Regions from separate parts of the Homo sapiens genome. Here regions 1, 2 and 4 are each linked to region 3. Evidence: promoter capture Hi-C in 16 types of primary human blood cells and fetal thymus (Javierre and others, 2016). All regions are on one chromosome and are shown on one strand. The core of a region is centred on a gene start or on the middle of the fragment in contact, and the rest is flanking DNA. Distances in the headings are between cores, read along the strand shown.

Region 1 (3,334 bases), core at 1-2,500, 1.1 Mb before region 3:
GAAATCATCTTAAAATATTCTCTCAACTTCCTTTTCTCTGCAGGTAGAAAATATTGCACAGAATGTAACTCTCTCGGTATCTTGCTCATCATCGTGAGGGTAAATATTGTACCTTTGTGTGATGGTGTCATTAGGGTTTGTTAATATGTGTGGAACTCATTGTCCCTCAACATGAGCCATCCCAAGACTACTATGTACTTTGTGTTCTTTTAAGGTTTGTCAGGGTTCTCTTCTGCACTGCTCCCACGTGTCAGTCCCCAGCAGCCTCTTGCCACCTCGCCTCTTCTCATATTTTACATCAAATAACTTGCTGTGACTGAGGAATGAGATCGCATAGATTATCAAGGTGAATGTTAAGCAAGAATAAATAGGCCCTGAATGCAGACTAGATGACCCCTTCCACAAGTTACCTCTTTAACTTGTGTGTGGACAAGCATGTGAACTTTCGGATACGTATTTCAGCTTCTCAGAAGTGTGTCTGACTGAGGGTCCATGCTGTATTCTGGTTAGTTAAGGTTTCAAGATAAATGAGCTGTCATTCTGTGACTCATCGAGAACTGTTTTAAGCAGCTACACAGCCTTGGAGAATAAAGGATGTCTAATCATCTCCAGTTTCCTGTCCTGGTTGACGTCATTGTCACCGTCATCATCTTCAACTCCATCAAGTTATTAAGTACCCCAAAGTGCGTAAGTTGCTAGACAAAATATGTTCCATAGACACAACCGTTGGTGTCTAGGAGTCTGCCTTCTTTAAATAGGTAGCACCAGAATGGGTCTAAGGCATACTTAGGTATTGATTGCCCTGTGGTAGGTAATAGAGAGCATCAGCTAGTAATCTGAAAGTACAAATGCAATATCCCAATTGCTGAGAACCTGCTGTGTGTAACAGGAGCCCACAGTGTGTAACTGGGTGCTGAGACTACACAGGGAAATATTACCCAGTCCCTGCCCTTTAGGAGCTTGATCCAATGACAGAAATGTGTATGAAGCACTTAGCCCAGTCTGGAGGTGGGGAGTCCGTGAACAAAGTCAGAGTTATTAGCTGGGTGAAGGGGAGGAGGGGCCTTTCTCTGGAGAGGGTGGAGCCTGAACAGGAAGCAGGAAGCTTCCTGTGGCGGGGTAGGAACCAGTGCAGGTCCCTGCTGCAAGGATTGAGTGGGTGACAGTGGAGAGGAACATGGGTTCTCAGATGTTATTGGGGGGCTCGGAGGGTAGGGCAGAGGGACACAGGGCAATGGAGTTAGAATTCTGTGTTAGGCGGCCCCTGGAAAGAAGAGGGGGCAAGAAGGGCAGTGAGGAGGATGGATTTGGGCTTGAACTAGGGCTGTGGTCTTATCTCTAGATTCTGGGGGCTGGATTTGAGAAATGTGTGTGAAATAAAATTTAGAAAGCTTGCAGAGGATGTAGGAGATGAGGAGAGGGGACAGTTAAGCCTGACCCTCAGCCTGGAGCGCAGGGTGTTGTTGCCAATTGGGGGTCAAGTGGGAGAGAAAGATGAAGGATTCAGGTTTGGATATGCAGATTTGACCGTCTGTGGAGATGCTCCAGAAGCAGTGGGGGGTCCAGACGAGGCTCAGTGTGATCTCCAACATGGACAGTGGTGGGCCTACTGATTTGCTCTGTGAAAGTTGGGGAGAGCAGCTGGGATTTCTGGGAATAGATTAGGCAGGAAGGAGAGGTTCTTCCTATTCAGGCAAATTGAATCTGAAAAAAGAGAGCAAAGAAAGATGTGTGGCACCCCAAGGGCAGGTACTCTGTGACGTCCTTTGAGAAGGAGGCGGGGCTCCTGCCTGAGGCAGGGTCAGGGCAGCCCCAAGGCTGTGGGTGGCTGCAGCCTGGCTGCGGAGAGGCACCTCTGCTGCAGTCAGGGGCTTGGATCCGTCCTGCTGATTGGCCTGGGTTTTGCTCTTGGCACTCAGTGGCAAGCGTCCAGACCTCCACTGGGCTGCCACGCACAGCTAGAAGGGTGGGAGAAGAGGAACTGGTCTTTCCATACAGCGTCTTCTGGCTTTGAGACAAAAGAAAAAGAACAGCTTATTGCACACTTCATGACACAGAGAGACAGCTATTGATCAGCTGAGAAACATTACAGACAGACAGACAGGAAAGGAGGAAGGAAGCGGGAAGATGATCAAATAGTTTGTTCAGCTTGAAGCCGCATTTTTACAAACACAAAGAGCCCAGAAGAAGAGAAAGTTACTTTTGTGTGGGTCCTTAATTAGGAAGTTCACGTTGGCCACCGGCTATCTTAGGAACTACTCTCCATTGTTTGAAGTGCTCTGTCTTCATCAGAGATGGGTCAGGGTGATGACTTAAATGAGCGAGAAAGGAGTAAATTGGTTCCAAGTTTAAGGTTTTCTTAATTAGAAGGCCTGAGAGAAGATGAGTGAGGACAAATCCGAGTTTCCCTGTGTGTGGCTGGCCATGGTTGGCGGTCGCAGCATCACAGCGTTGGCCGGCTGCTGCTTAGCTTTATTTTACTTGTGATTTTTCTTTGTTATGCACCGAACAGATTCCCCTCTCTGGTATTCAGTGGGGAGCATATAGCCGGAGGATAGCAATTAGCTATAGCTAGGCCTGCTCCTCTTTGCACAGCTCAAGATGACGTGTACAATTACTTTGGCACCTCACCAGCTCTTTCAGACCTTTTCCATGCATGATGGGAAGACAGGTCCATTCTCTGAGAGTCCCTCACTCCCTCCCCCTCCCAAATTCCCCCTTACCTGGATGAAATCCTGATGTAAATGGACCTTGCCTGCAAATAGAACTGAAGGGACCTGTTACGTCATCAGGCCTGGCAGAGCTCATTGGCAGAGAAGTTAAGAGTTTTATTTTAGACCCAGAGACCAGGCTGTGCAGATCCAGCTAGAACAGGTCTCTTCTGGCTCAGCCTCAGCTGCTGGCCCTCCTGCTGTGGTTACTGGGGCTCCAAAGGATGGAATGTCAGGGGGATCATGCTGCACAGTGAGCAGGACAACCTGACGGCCAGACCGAATGCACTCCAAAGGAAATCTCAGGCTAGGGTAATACAGCCAAGGTGCTGCCTCTACAATCATGGGAGGTTTCAACCTTCTGGGAGAAAAGCCCTAATGCAGCACATGATGGTATAGATTTGATCCAGGAAGGCAGAGTAAACAAACTATTTAAAGACATGAGTCTTGGCTGGGCACGGTGGCTCACGCCTGTAATCCCAGCACTTTGGGCGGCCGAGACGGGCGGATCACGAGATCAGGAGATCGAGACCATCCTGGCTAACACGGTGAAACCCCATCTCTACTAAAAATAAAAAAAAAATTAAAAAAAATTAGCAGGGCGTGGTGGCGGGTGCCTGTAG
Region 2 (3,695 bases), core at 213-2,712, 1.5 Mb before region 3:
TTGTCATATATTGCATGGAAGCCAGACTTCTTAGCAGAATATTGAATTAGACTCCTCAAATTCGAATAAGTCATTAATTTTTATTTATAAATCCCAGTTTGTTAACCCTTAATATCTAATTGATAAATAGTCCTTAATCTAAAATATAAGCAAATAAGATTCAATTTTTAACAAAGAAAGAATGCACACTGTGGAACAGTGCACAGTCCAACATGATCATACTTCAAGATCACTGCTTTAGGGAATCACTCTGAATAGATTAAAATCACTTTTATTCACAGCAATCATTGGTAATGCTAAGTACTCTCAAGTACCAAAGAGGTTTTCATGAATATCAAATTTCTAAAATGATTATGGTATATATTGGCTTAATTATATTATCATTAATATTATTAGTAACCACTATTTGTTGAATACTTACTAAGTATTGGGCATTCTCTTAGACTGTTTTCATAGTAATATCTCTAATTTCAAAACAACTATGTGGGTATGAATAGCTTTTAGAATGAGAAAATAAGTAACTTGTACACAGTCAAACAACTGGTAATTGATAATATCAGGATTTGAACCCAGACTTTTTTATCGAATAAAAATGTAATTAGGTAAACCAAAATATCACAAAATGAGAAATAGATTTACCCTACAAAGTAAATGGAATATACAAATTAGGTGCAATACACACATAAATTATATTTTTAAATTGATAAGGCTACCTCTGTTTATTGGAAAGTTTGTCTTAGATTTAAAACCTTAAAAGAATAAATCGTTAAGTGATTTAATTTCAGTATTTACCCATTTGTTGACCACTCTCTTTGCAGGATGCCCTCCAAAGTACTATAGCAATTTCTATTTTTGAATAATGAAGTTCATAAGAATACAATTTTAATGTTTACTTTTCAAGTGAACTTTTTAATAGCAAGAAACAGAGGTAAAAAATGATGAACATTTTATTTTTCTTTAACTTGTAACCACTACTTTAAAATCCCCAAACACTCTAGTCTACATTTACCTCTTCCTTCTCTAAACTTCTACTTACAATTACATTCAATTCCAGTCTTCTTTTGTATATCTTTTGAATATCCCAAAGACCCTGGTTGAATACTGAACATGTGGTAGTCATTCAAATCCTTGGACGGATTTGACCAAGGCACTGGAGTTCTTAAATGTAGCATCTTATGTATTGTTCCACTTAAGCTTGGCATGATTTTACCACACATACAATCCCATTAATAAATTCTGTGACCAAAACTGTTGTTACAAATGCAGTTATAACAATTACACTGATAGATGTGATACTGAGTCCCCAGTTCCAGAACCTCTACAGTAAATTAGTAAATAAAAGAAACACTACACTCTATTCTGAAAAAAGTTAATTTTCATTTACTTATTATTCTTTATCCTCTTATTTTTCTCACTTATTCATTCATTCACTCAATAAATATTCAGAGCCTTATCACATTCCAGGCACTGTTTCAGGTACTAGAAAAACATCAGTGAACAAAACAACAACAAAAAATAAACAATGCCTTTTTCTTTTCAGGAATGGAAAAATAAGTAAGTAAAATATTTAGTACGCTAGTGATGGTCTGTGCTATGGTGAAACAATTAAGGAAAGGGGATCATAAAGAGAGACAAAGGTATACCCTTAGGTAGAGAATGGTCATGGAAAATCTCATAGAGAATGTCATAACTGAGGAAAAACCTGAAAATGAGGAAGTGAGCTAAGCTTTTAAGCGGGAGAAGATAATTCTACTTAAACAGAAGACCTGGTGCAAAGGTCATAAACCAGAAGCATGCTGATGTGTTTGGAAAATAACAGGCAGCATAGTGGTGATGACCAGTGAGCAAGGCAAGAACAGTAGTAGATAAAGTCAGAGAGTAATGAAGGGGACCAGATAAGAGTTTTAGTGGACAGCAATGGCAGTGTTGGACAACTTCCAGGCTGAGAGATGTCAAGGTTATTTGGAGGAACACACTACTGAAAAAATTGGTTGGAAGCTGGGATTGTGGGTATAACATAAAGAGCTCAGCTATGGTTTTACTCTCTTTACAATGTCGAGGCTTAAAGAAAACAGATTTCACAGAACAATTCATTCTAGAGGGTTCAGCACCCAAATAGTTCCAAACCAACTTGTTTAAGGTCAGTTTGAAAAACATACACAGTTTCCTATCGAAACAAAGTTAAAGCAGTTATGATCCACAACAGTCCCCAGACAGCATACTAATATGCTATTAGTGCCTCAAGACACTGCCCTCACCAGCAGGAACGGCTGCAGCAGTATCACCTGGGAACATGTTAGAAATGCAATCAGAACCAGACCAGAAATTCCGGGGATGGGGCCCAATAATCTGTGTTTTAATAGGCCTCCAGAAGATTTTGATTCTTCCTTAAGTTTAAGGACTACTCTTGTAATGGACCTGAAATATAACACCTCCCCAAGTGCATCTGCTAAAATTTGTAATATTGTTACTTTGGGAAACTGCATCCTATGTTTCAAATAAAGGAACTATACAAATAAATAAGGTATAAATAAATTTTGAGAACCAGCAACCTGTTAGCTTTCAGGACCTCCACATCCTCATTTTAAAAAATATATTAATCACTCTCTAACAATTCTGAACAAAGGAGTGTAACTCTGGACTCTTCCCCCAAATATTCACTTATATATATGAGTTATTCTTAAATAGACCATTCTTAAAGAGTACAACTAAATCATTAAAGTACCTATTTTAAAGGTTACTCTTCAGAACATAACAGATATGCTTGCAACTCTCAAGAAGGTCTATTTTATTTCTGGCACGATTCATAATACTAGACAGTAGCAAATCAACATTTTTGACCTTGAGCCACATTTTACATCATGATCAATAACAAACATTCATGTGGATGTCCAAAATACACACAGATGTACACAGAAATATTTAAAATAATTATAATAGTATAAAAAATTCCTAAAATATATTTAACCATATTATGACCAATGGTTTCTAAATATTTTCTGTTCTATTCCTATTATTGTTTAATACTGGTTGTGTTCTATTATGGGATTTCAAACAATGGTCTAGATGACCCGTATTCTATCCTTGCCACACCAAATAATCTACATGTAGACAAAATTGTGAACTACAATAGGGAAGTAACAGCATGTGGTAGACTGAATTATTGGTCCCAATTCTTCATTACCTTGTAATTGAATTATACAACCTACTCCCTACCATAGCCTTACGGTGGGCATATCATATTTCTCCACCCCTTGACTTGGGCTTGGCCATGTAACTTGTTTTAACTAACAGGTTGCTAACAGACATGACACAAAGAGACTTAAAATATATTTGTGTAGTTGGGCCTTTAGTTATCCATGGTGAAAACATTCACCAGATACCTGTTAACCCCCTACCTGAGTCCCAGATGAGACAAATGGAATAGACAGGAACTTGGCCCCAGCTTGAAGTAAGGCTTCTCCAGCTGACCCATAGACATATGAGCAAGAAACAACGTATCGTTTTATGCCCCTGAGATTTTATTATAGTTTGTTACACAGCAAAAGCTGACTAATACATAGCATGAATTATGACTTATTTTAGCTCAAAAGGTACACAACCCAGGGTTTTCTCTATCCTAAGTTGCTTTTCTCTCATATAATCTATCCTGAGGACACAGTCTAAAAGACGACTTTCCTCCTAAGGCCCTGCTT
Region 3 (3,451 bases), core at 739-3,238:
GCTGGAGTGCAATGGTGCGATCTCGGCTCACTGCAACACTCCGCCTCCCAGGTTCAAGTGATTCTCCTGCCTCAGCCTCCAGAGTAGCTGGGATTACAGGCGAGTGCCACCACGCCCAAGCCCATTGGCCAGGATGGTCACGAACTCCTGACCTCGGGTGATCTACCCGCCTCCGCCTCCCACAGTGCTGGATTACAGGCGTGAGCCACCGCGCCCGGCCTATTTTTTTAAATTTTATAGGCCGGGGGGGCGGTGGCTCACGCCTGTAATCCCAGCACTTTGGGAGGCCAAAGCGGGAGGTTCACCTGAGCTAGGGAGTTCGAGGCCAGCCTGACCAACATGGAGAAACCCCATCTCTACTAAAAATACAAAAATCAGCCTGGCGCGGTGGCGCATGCCTGTAATCCCAGCTTCTCGGGAGGTTGAGGCAGGAGAATCGCTTGAACCCGGGAGGCAGAGGTTGCGGTGAGCCGAGATCGCGCCATTGCACTCCAGCCTGGGAAATAAGAGCAAAACTCCGTCTCAAAAAAAAAAAAAAAAAAAGTTATGTATTGCCTAGTTTTGAAAGAAAAAATTTATCAATTTTTAAAGTATAATTAATTTGTATGTAATTTGTGGCCATGGTAATGTGTGCCCAGGCAGAAACAGAGGTAGCAAAAAAGGAAAACTCAGGGTAGTTATTATGATGTATGAAAACAGCTCTTGGTGAAACTAAGGCCTCACTTTTACAAGATCTTAGATACACAGGACAAAAAATGATGTTAACTATAAAGAGTGGAAGCCTCCAAAAAAAAAAAATCCAAAGAAACGTAAAATGGCCGAGCGCGGTGGCTCACGCCTGTGATCCCAGCACTCTGGGAGGCTGAGGCGGGTGGATCACGAGGTCAGGAGTTCAAGACCAGCCTGGCCAAAATGGTGAAACCCCCGTCTCTACTAAATATACAAAAGTTAGCTAGGCGTGGTGACTGGCGCCTGTAATCCCAGCTACTCGGGAGGCTGAGGCAGGAGAATCGCTTGAACCCGGGAGCGGGAGGTTGCGGTAAGCCGATATCGTGCCACTGGACTCCAGCCTGGGTGACACAGTGAGACTCCATCTCAAAAAAAAAAAAAAAAAAAAAAAAAAAAAACAACGTAAAACGAATCAATGTGTTATTATCACGACTTAAAAAAAAAACTTAATATCTAGACCATGAAAGCTATATAAGCAAATAAGCATCATTTAGATTTTTTTTTCCATAAAAATTTCCGTTAAGTCGTGCAATAAAAAATGTAACCAACATAGTAACTCGCGGCCTCGGAAGGGGGAAATTTAACGGTCAAGAACAAGAAATTCTGAAAGCATGGCCTCTAAGGGTCAAGCGGGAACCTGAATACAGTCTCCCAGTTCTTACTAGCTTTGATGCAAGCCCCAGGCAAGTCGGGGAACAGGGAAAGAGGAAAAAGGGAACGCAGAAGGTTGCTCCGGTAAAGGACCCACTTTCAGGCCAGACTCCACGACCGGCAGCCCCGGGCTTCTCATTCATTCCGCGCGGTCTCCAGGTGGCGGCCGCGCGTTGGCGGCCGTGGCGTTCTCCGCCCGGAACTGGGGTGCACTCACCTGTTCGGGAACACGACCTCGCGGCGCCCGAGGCCGCCGAGGCCGCCGCCAGCAGCCGGGGGGATGCGGGCCTGGGAACAGCAGCCGGCGGGGACAACGGGCGGCGCAGCCCTGGGGCGGGCAGGCGGCGCAGGCCGGGCGCGTCCCTCTGCAGCAGGGCCGAGCAGAGCCGCCGCGGACTATGAAACATGCCGGGCGCCGCCGCCACCACGGCCCCTCGCGCGCCCGAGGAGCGGAGCCCGGCTGGGGCCGAGGGCACCGAGTCGAGCCGACTGTCCGGGCAGTGTGGGCGGATGCTCCCAGGCTCCTTCTCGCGCGGCGCAGGTTCTGGGGAAATCCCGGGCAGCAGAGCCGGAGAGGGAGGTGCAACACCGCTGCGTCGGCACCGTCTGCTGTGAGACCTGGCGAGACCTGCAGGGCGCCCGGCGAGCGCTGCGCGCTGACAAAGCGGGCGCTACCAAGCGGGAGCTGGAGGGGAATCCGCGGGACCCGGCCACTGCGCGGCCACGCCAGGCTCCCTCGACCCGGCGTAATCCTGTTTTAAAAGGAAGCGGGGCTTAGGCTGATTTATAGATAGAATCCGCAGGCGGTCTAAAATAAGAGGTATCCGTTGGAGCTGTTCTGAAGAAAAAAGCGTCCCCTTCCGCTGGCCAGCATGGAAGCGCCCACAGGCTGGGAATCCCGAGACAGTTCCAGGGCTGTGGCCCAGGGGACACGTGTCTGTCAGAGTGGCAGACGGCCTACGTGTGTGCCTGCGCGGGTCTGTGTGGATACAGCAAAAGGCGTCCGCCTCCGACCCCCTCGGCAGTGTGTGATGCGTTAAACGATATTAAGCACAATAAAGCACCGCCTGTGGGCGAGGCGACGATGATTAAAACAGCGTTCTTTTCCTCAAAAGTGTTATACTTAGGCAAAGGGAGCAGAAGGTGGCAAGGGAAGTCAGACCAGAAAGCTCTACAAGGTAGAATGAGATTATTGCCACAAGATGCCAAAGATTGGCTATAGAGATGACAACAGGCCCGGGCTCTCTAGAAGGTTCATTAGAAGGATTGGCATTTGAGTTGGCCTATGACGTGGAGGTCTAGAATTTACCCACGTGAAACTTTGGAGGGGGTGGTGGTGAGTTATAAATGAAAAAAGTAAATAAGGGTGTATTTGGGGAAACAACTCTTAGTCATGTAAGATGGAAGCTAAGGAGTAAGAGGACAGATGCGTGGATAGGTTGTAGTGTGGAAGGAAGGGGATTATAGTAGGCTTAATTCGGTGGATAGCTGCGAGCCGTTGACGTTTTGTAAGCTGAGCAAAGACATGGTCAGGGCTGTGCTTTAATTGGAAATCACATGTCTCTGGTTCATGAAAAGGCAGAAAGGAAATCAGCTGAGATAACAGATACTGTAGACCCGCACCAGGTTACTGTTACTGGAAAAGAAAGGATGGAAGAAACATCTCAGACAGGCTGGGCAGGAAATGATGACTAATCAGGAATAGAAATGGGATGAGGGGGAGGGAAAACCCAAGACTGGATTTTTCTCTGAATGATTCATGAGTTAGAAATGTATTCTATTGGTTTTCCCATGATTTTGCTGATTCCCCTGTGTTGTGGAATTGCAAGCTTTTCATCACAAGAATATTCTAAATATTTTTCAGACCTAGGTTACATATCTAACACCTGTGGATAGAGGGTGTGGACAGATCAGCTGGCACAAGTTGATTACAACTTCTGGCAGACAAGCTCCTTGGAAGTCATTAAAGCCTCAGTTTCAGTTTCCTTATCTATAAAACATAGAATCATACCTTAGTCATTAGGTGAAATAAAAAATGATAATAAGCTACTCTGGGCACACTGTCTATCGA
Region 4 (3,702 bases), core at 137-2,636, 1.4 Mb before region 3:
TGTCAGTGTTATTCTTTCAACAAGTATTTACTGAATATCTTCTATGCCCAAGGCATTGTTATGCCTCCGTATCTTAAACAGTAGAAAGCAGACCTATTAAATAAGGATATCTACATACTAGAACTAGAATCACAATAGAGATATCAGTGTATTACACATTCTCTCACAGCTGTTAATACAAATCTTGTTGTACTTCAGATACTAACATGAAATTTGAAAATGCCCAGTGTACATCTACATAAATCCTGTTACACTTTAGATACTAACATGAACTTCAAATTAAAATGCCCAGTGTACATATACATAAACTTCAAGTTTATAGTTCAAGTTAGATAGCACTCACTAGTCTAGAAAAAAATATGAAATATCCCTTGTATAACATTATTAAATAATTAACTACAAATGGTATACAATTAATTTAATAATGCTGAATAAACCTACTCCAAGTCTTCTAGCATCTGTCCCCTTATCTAAACCGCATTTAAAGTTGCTCTGCCCGACCTCTTTTTCACATTATTTAATTCTCAGGTTCTCTGCATTTCAGATTACTAAAATTTTTCCAACAATTCTTTTTTTAAAAGTTATTCAGCCTACTGTAGTATTTAAAGACCACACTCCAAAAACTATTCCTCTCCATTGAATCAACATGTCTCTTTAACTATAATTGAAGAGGAAGAGTGTCAGTGAAAACTTGATTTGACATTTCCCTGACAGAGAAGCACACCTGTAACCAGGTACTACAGTCATTCTCTTTTCATACCATTTCAACCACTGATCCAGCTAAAAGAGGTCTGAGTAAGATGAGAGAGGCAACAGCCAAAAGCAAAAGTGATCGTGGGAGTGCTCAGCAAGAGTAAGCTGCAATTTGGCATCTGTCTTTGCTAAATAATAAATTAAAAGTGCTTCAAATTTCTCATATCCAATGATTTTAAGGCTACAGCTAGAACGAATTTTCATGATAGCTAAGAAGAGTTATAAGATATACAAGCCAAAGCAACAGATAATCAGAAAATCGACACAGCTGATTTTGAAGTCAGATATAATACAGTGATAGGGTAGTCTTCTTTTGCTTATGTTTCAGACTAATATTTAAATTAAACCAAAAAGTCTGCAAAAACACAAGTATTCCAAACTCACCAATATAAGAGGTAAAGAAAAAGAAGCCAGTTTCTGAAATTCTGACCACATATAATTCAAACAATAGAAAACCTATGCATGGTTTAGCAACAGTGTGACTTCATCTGAAAAAGTGAAAGAAAATAAAAAGCAGAAAAACAGGGTGGAGAGGGCTTATTAAAGGAAAAATTACTCTTACACTCAAGATTAGGGTAGAGGCAGGAGCACAAAAGTAGTGCCACAAGAACAGTGCTATAAGGGTATACAACGCGAGAGAGCACAATTCACACCACAGTCTACGTAAGATTGCATCCCAAGTGTTGCACAGTGAAAAAACCGCCCACTGTATCTGGCAGCCCTACGCATAAGGGCATTACTCTTTAGTACAGTGGACCACAGCATTACCTGCTGCCTTTCCACGACAAAAGAACAAGAAGCAATTGTATTTTATTGTGATGTGATCAAATAGACCCATCTCAAAATGCTACTATTGTATTAATATATATTCAAAGTCTTTCAGTAGATTTAGGGCAATAAACTGATTTGTTTGACATATGGGATCAAAAGACTTGCTGAGTTCTTTATGTCAAAGTATTTTAGCCATGGATTTTTTCTTTTAAAATAGTATTGATCCCCAAACTGCCCAAAGTCTACATTAACACAGTACTACATCATAACAGATACTTAATACTGAGCTTTTCAAATTTTTCAACTATAAAATCCTTTTTTACCTATAGTTGCTATAACATCAATCTAATTCCATGTCAAATATGCTCTTAAGAGTTCACTTTCAACTCCTTCTGCTCCTATATATAAACGCAAATCTGATGAAAAACGAGAAAATTAAGACCAAGTCTGCTCAAGCGTGGGAACACTGAAATGAATTTGGGGCGCTGAGGCTGCTCTGCCTATCCTAAACCACCTTACCCCAGAAATGGACATGGTTCGCTGAGATTCTTCAGCTCTGATGTATGGCTAGGTCAGACCTTTCAAAGGTTTCTCAAAAAACACAGTAAATTCGGGTATCTAGCCTTGGTTAGTGGAAGGGAATCTAGAATTACTTTTTTGATTATTTAAGTCCAGGAGGCAGAACGCATAGAGAGAATACAAACCAGGAAATGTGGCAAACATTGGGACAAGATTCATTTAATTAAATAATTTTTGCCATGCACACACACCTGTGACCAAAGACGATCATCTTACCAAATATGCCCCTATCTTATTTTACAGTTATCTCTAATAGTGTACAATATCCACAATATCACTCTCCTCAAGAGGCAGCCTGGCACAATGATTAACAATATGGATTCAGATTACCTGGATTCAAATCCTAGCTCTGCAATTTATAAGCTCTGGAACCCTGGGCAAGGTTAACACCTCGGCCTTAAGTTTCCTCATTTGTAAAATGTGGATAATAACCGTACGTATCTCATGGGTTTGTTGTGAGAATGAGTGGATAGATACAATGTGTTGGCAACAGTACCTAGTACATAGTAGGTATTCAATAAATGTCTGCTATCGTCTTCTCTACCTTTTAGCTCTAATTTGGGCAACAGAAAGAATTTAAAGAAAACCATCTGGTCCAGCTGCTTCATTTTACAAAATCAAGGCCAAAGATGACAATGGCTTACTGAAGACCACAGAAGTAGTTAGCAACAGGGCCAAGACTACAACAAATGCCCAGTGTTTTTTCCACCATTCCACCACAACTATTGTCACATCTGAGCCTGCAGATTTTGAGACTTTTTCCTAATACCCGTCCATCTTCAGCCACTCAACTTTTCTGCATCTAAAATTGATTTCACCATCTGTCATACTGGAGAACTACTAAGACTGCTAAAATAATGTCTTCGTGCATTAATGTGCTAAATGCTTTGCATATGTTATTTCATCAAATCAACAGAAGGAAACTGCAATTTACAGATATGGACACTAAATTTCAGAAAGTCTATATATCTTTCAGAAAAGCTGTTTCAGAGGTTTCACAGCCAATGTCTCTACCAAGAATTTGAACCCAGGTCTAACTTCACAGTCCATGCTTTTTCCATTATGCAATGGAAAAAACTTTAATATGGCCCTAATCTTAAGTTTGCCAAACATTTTGCTACCACTGATGTCAAACTCCTCTGGAATCTTTACTAAGCAACTGAAAATAAACTCCATTCCCTTCAAGCTACGGAACTTCAATATAATGTCTGTTCAGATCTGTTCAAGTTCTGCTTTGACTTGTCCTGGTTAAATAAATCCAGTTTCAAATTCCACAAGATCAAGGAACTGTTTGGCCAAATGAGGATTTAAATGGAAGCTATACTCTCAGAGAATGGCTAGCTACACTGATTTTAATCAGGAATAGAGGTACCAGAATACATGGGCACAGCTTTGGGTCCTCGGGCATAGAAAACGTGTTGGCAACCTGGAATGGCATCTGTCCTTATTGTTGCGTAATAGTGTGAGGTTGACACACTGTATAACAGAAGCCCTGCCTTTCAGGAATGTATCCTCTTTCTCCTTTCCAAACCTTTCTTCCCAAAACTTGTTCAGCAGGACTCTGGGGGAGAAGACGATCAGGAAACAAACCCAGGTGCC

Evidence for each region. Contacts are between HindIII fragments. The CHiCAGO score rates a contact against its expected background, and 5 or more counts as called.
Region 1: a fragment that was not itself captured here is called in contact with the fragment with the promoter of NOCT in region 3 in 1 of 17 cell types (activated CD4 T cells); the score reaches 5.0 in activated CD4 T cells.
Region 2: a fragment that was not itself captured here is called in contact with the fragment with the promoter of NOCT in region 3 in 2 of 17 cell types (fetal thymus and activated CD4 T cells); the score reaches 5.4 in fetal thymus.
Region 4: a fragment that was not itself captured here is called in contact with the fragment with the promoter of NOCT in region 3 in 1 of 17 cell types (fetal thymus); the score reaches 11.6 in fetal thymus.

Annotation. Positions count from the first base shown.
Region 1 is chr4:140,093,554-140,096,887 of GRCh38, reverse strand. The region is part of intron 1 of MAML3 (mastermind like transcriptional coactivator 3); the gene reads left to right. Among named protein-coding and RNA genes, the nearest start is that of MAML3-AS1, 33 kb to the left of the region's middle. RefSeq lists an enhancer at 1,804-1,853. The HindIII fragment of the contact is 286 bases long and covers 1,108-1,393 here.
Region 2 is chr4:140,527,758-140,531,452 of GRCh38, reverse strand. The region is part of intron 3 of ELMOD2 (ELMO domain containing 2); the gene reads right to left. Among named protein-coding and RNA genes, the nearest start is that of ELMOD2, 5.4 kb to the right of the region's middle. The HindIII fragment of the contact is 532 bases long and covers 1,197-1,728 here.
Region 3 is chr4:139,014,318-139,017,768 of GRCh38, reverse strand. It overlaps NOCT (nocturnin), which reads right to left and starts at 1,988. Exons shown (of 3, transcript NM_012118.4): 1 at 1,598-1,988. The coding sequence starts at 1,787. RefSeq lists a silencer at 1,549-1,848 and enhancers at 1,989-2,338, 2,371-3,292, 2,429-3,451. The HindIII fragment of the contact is 5,482 bases long and covers 1-3,211 here.
Region 4 is chr4:140,374,214-140,377,915 of GRCh38, reverse strand. The region is part of intron 1 of SCOC (short coiled-coil protein); the gene reads right to left. Among named protein-coding and RNA genes, the nearest start is that of SCOC, 2.4 kb to the right of the region's middle. The HindIII fragment of the contact is 6,823 bases long and covers 1-3,702 here.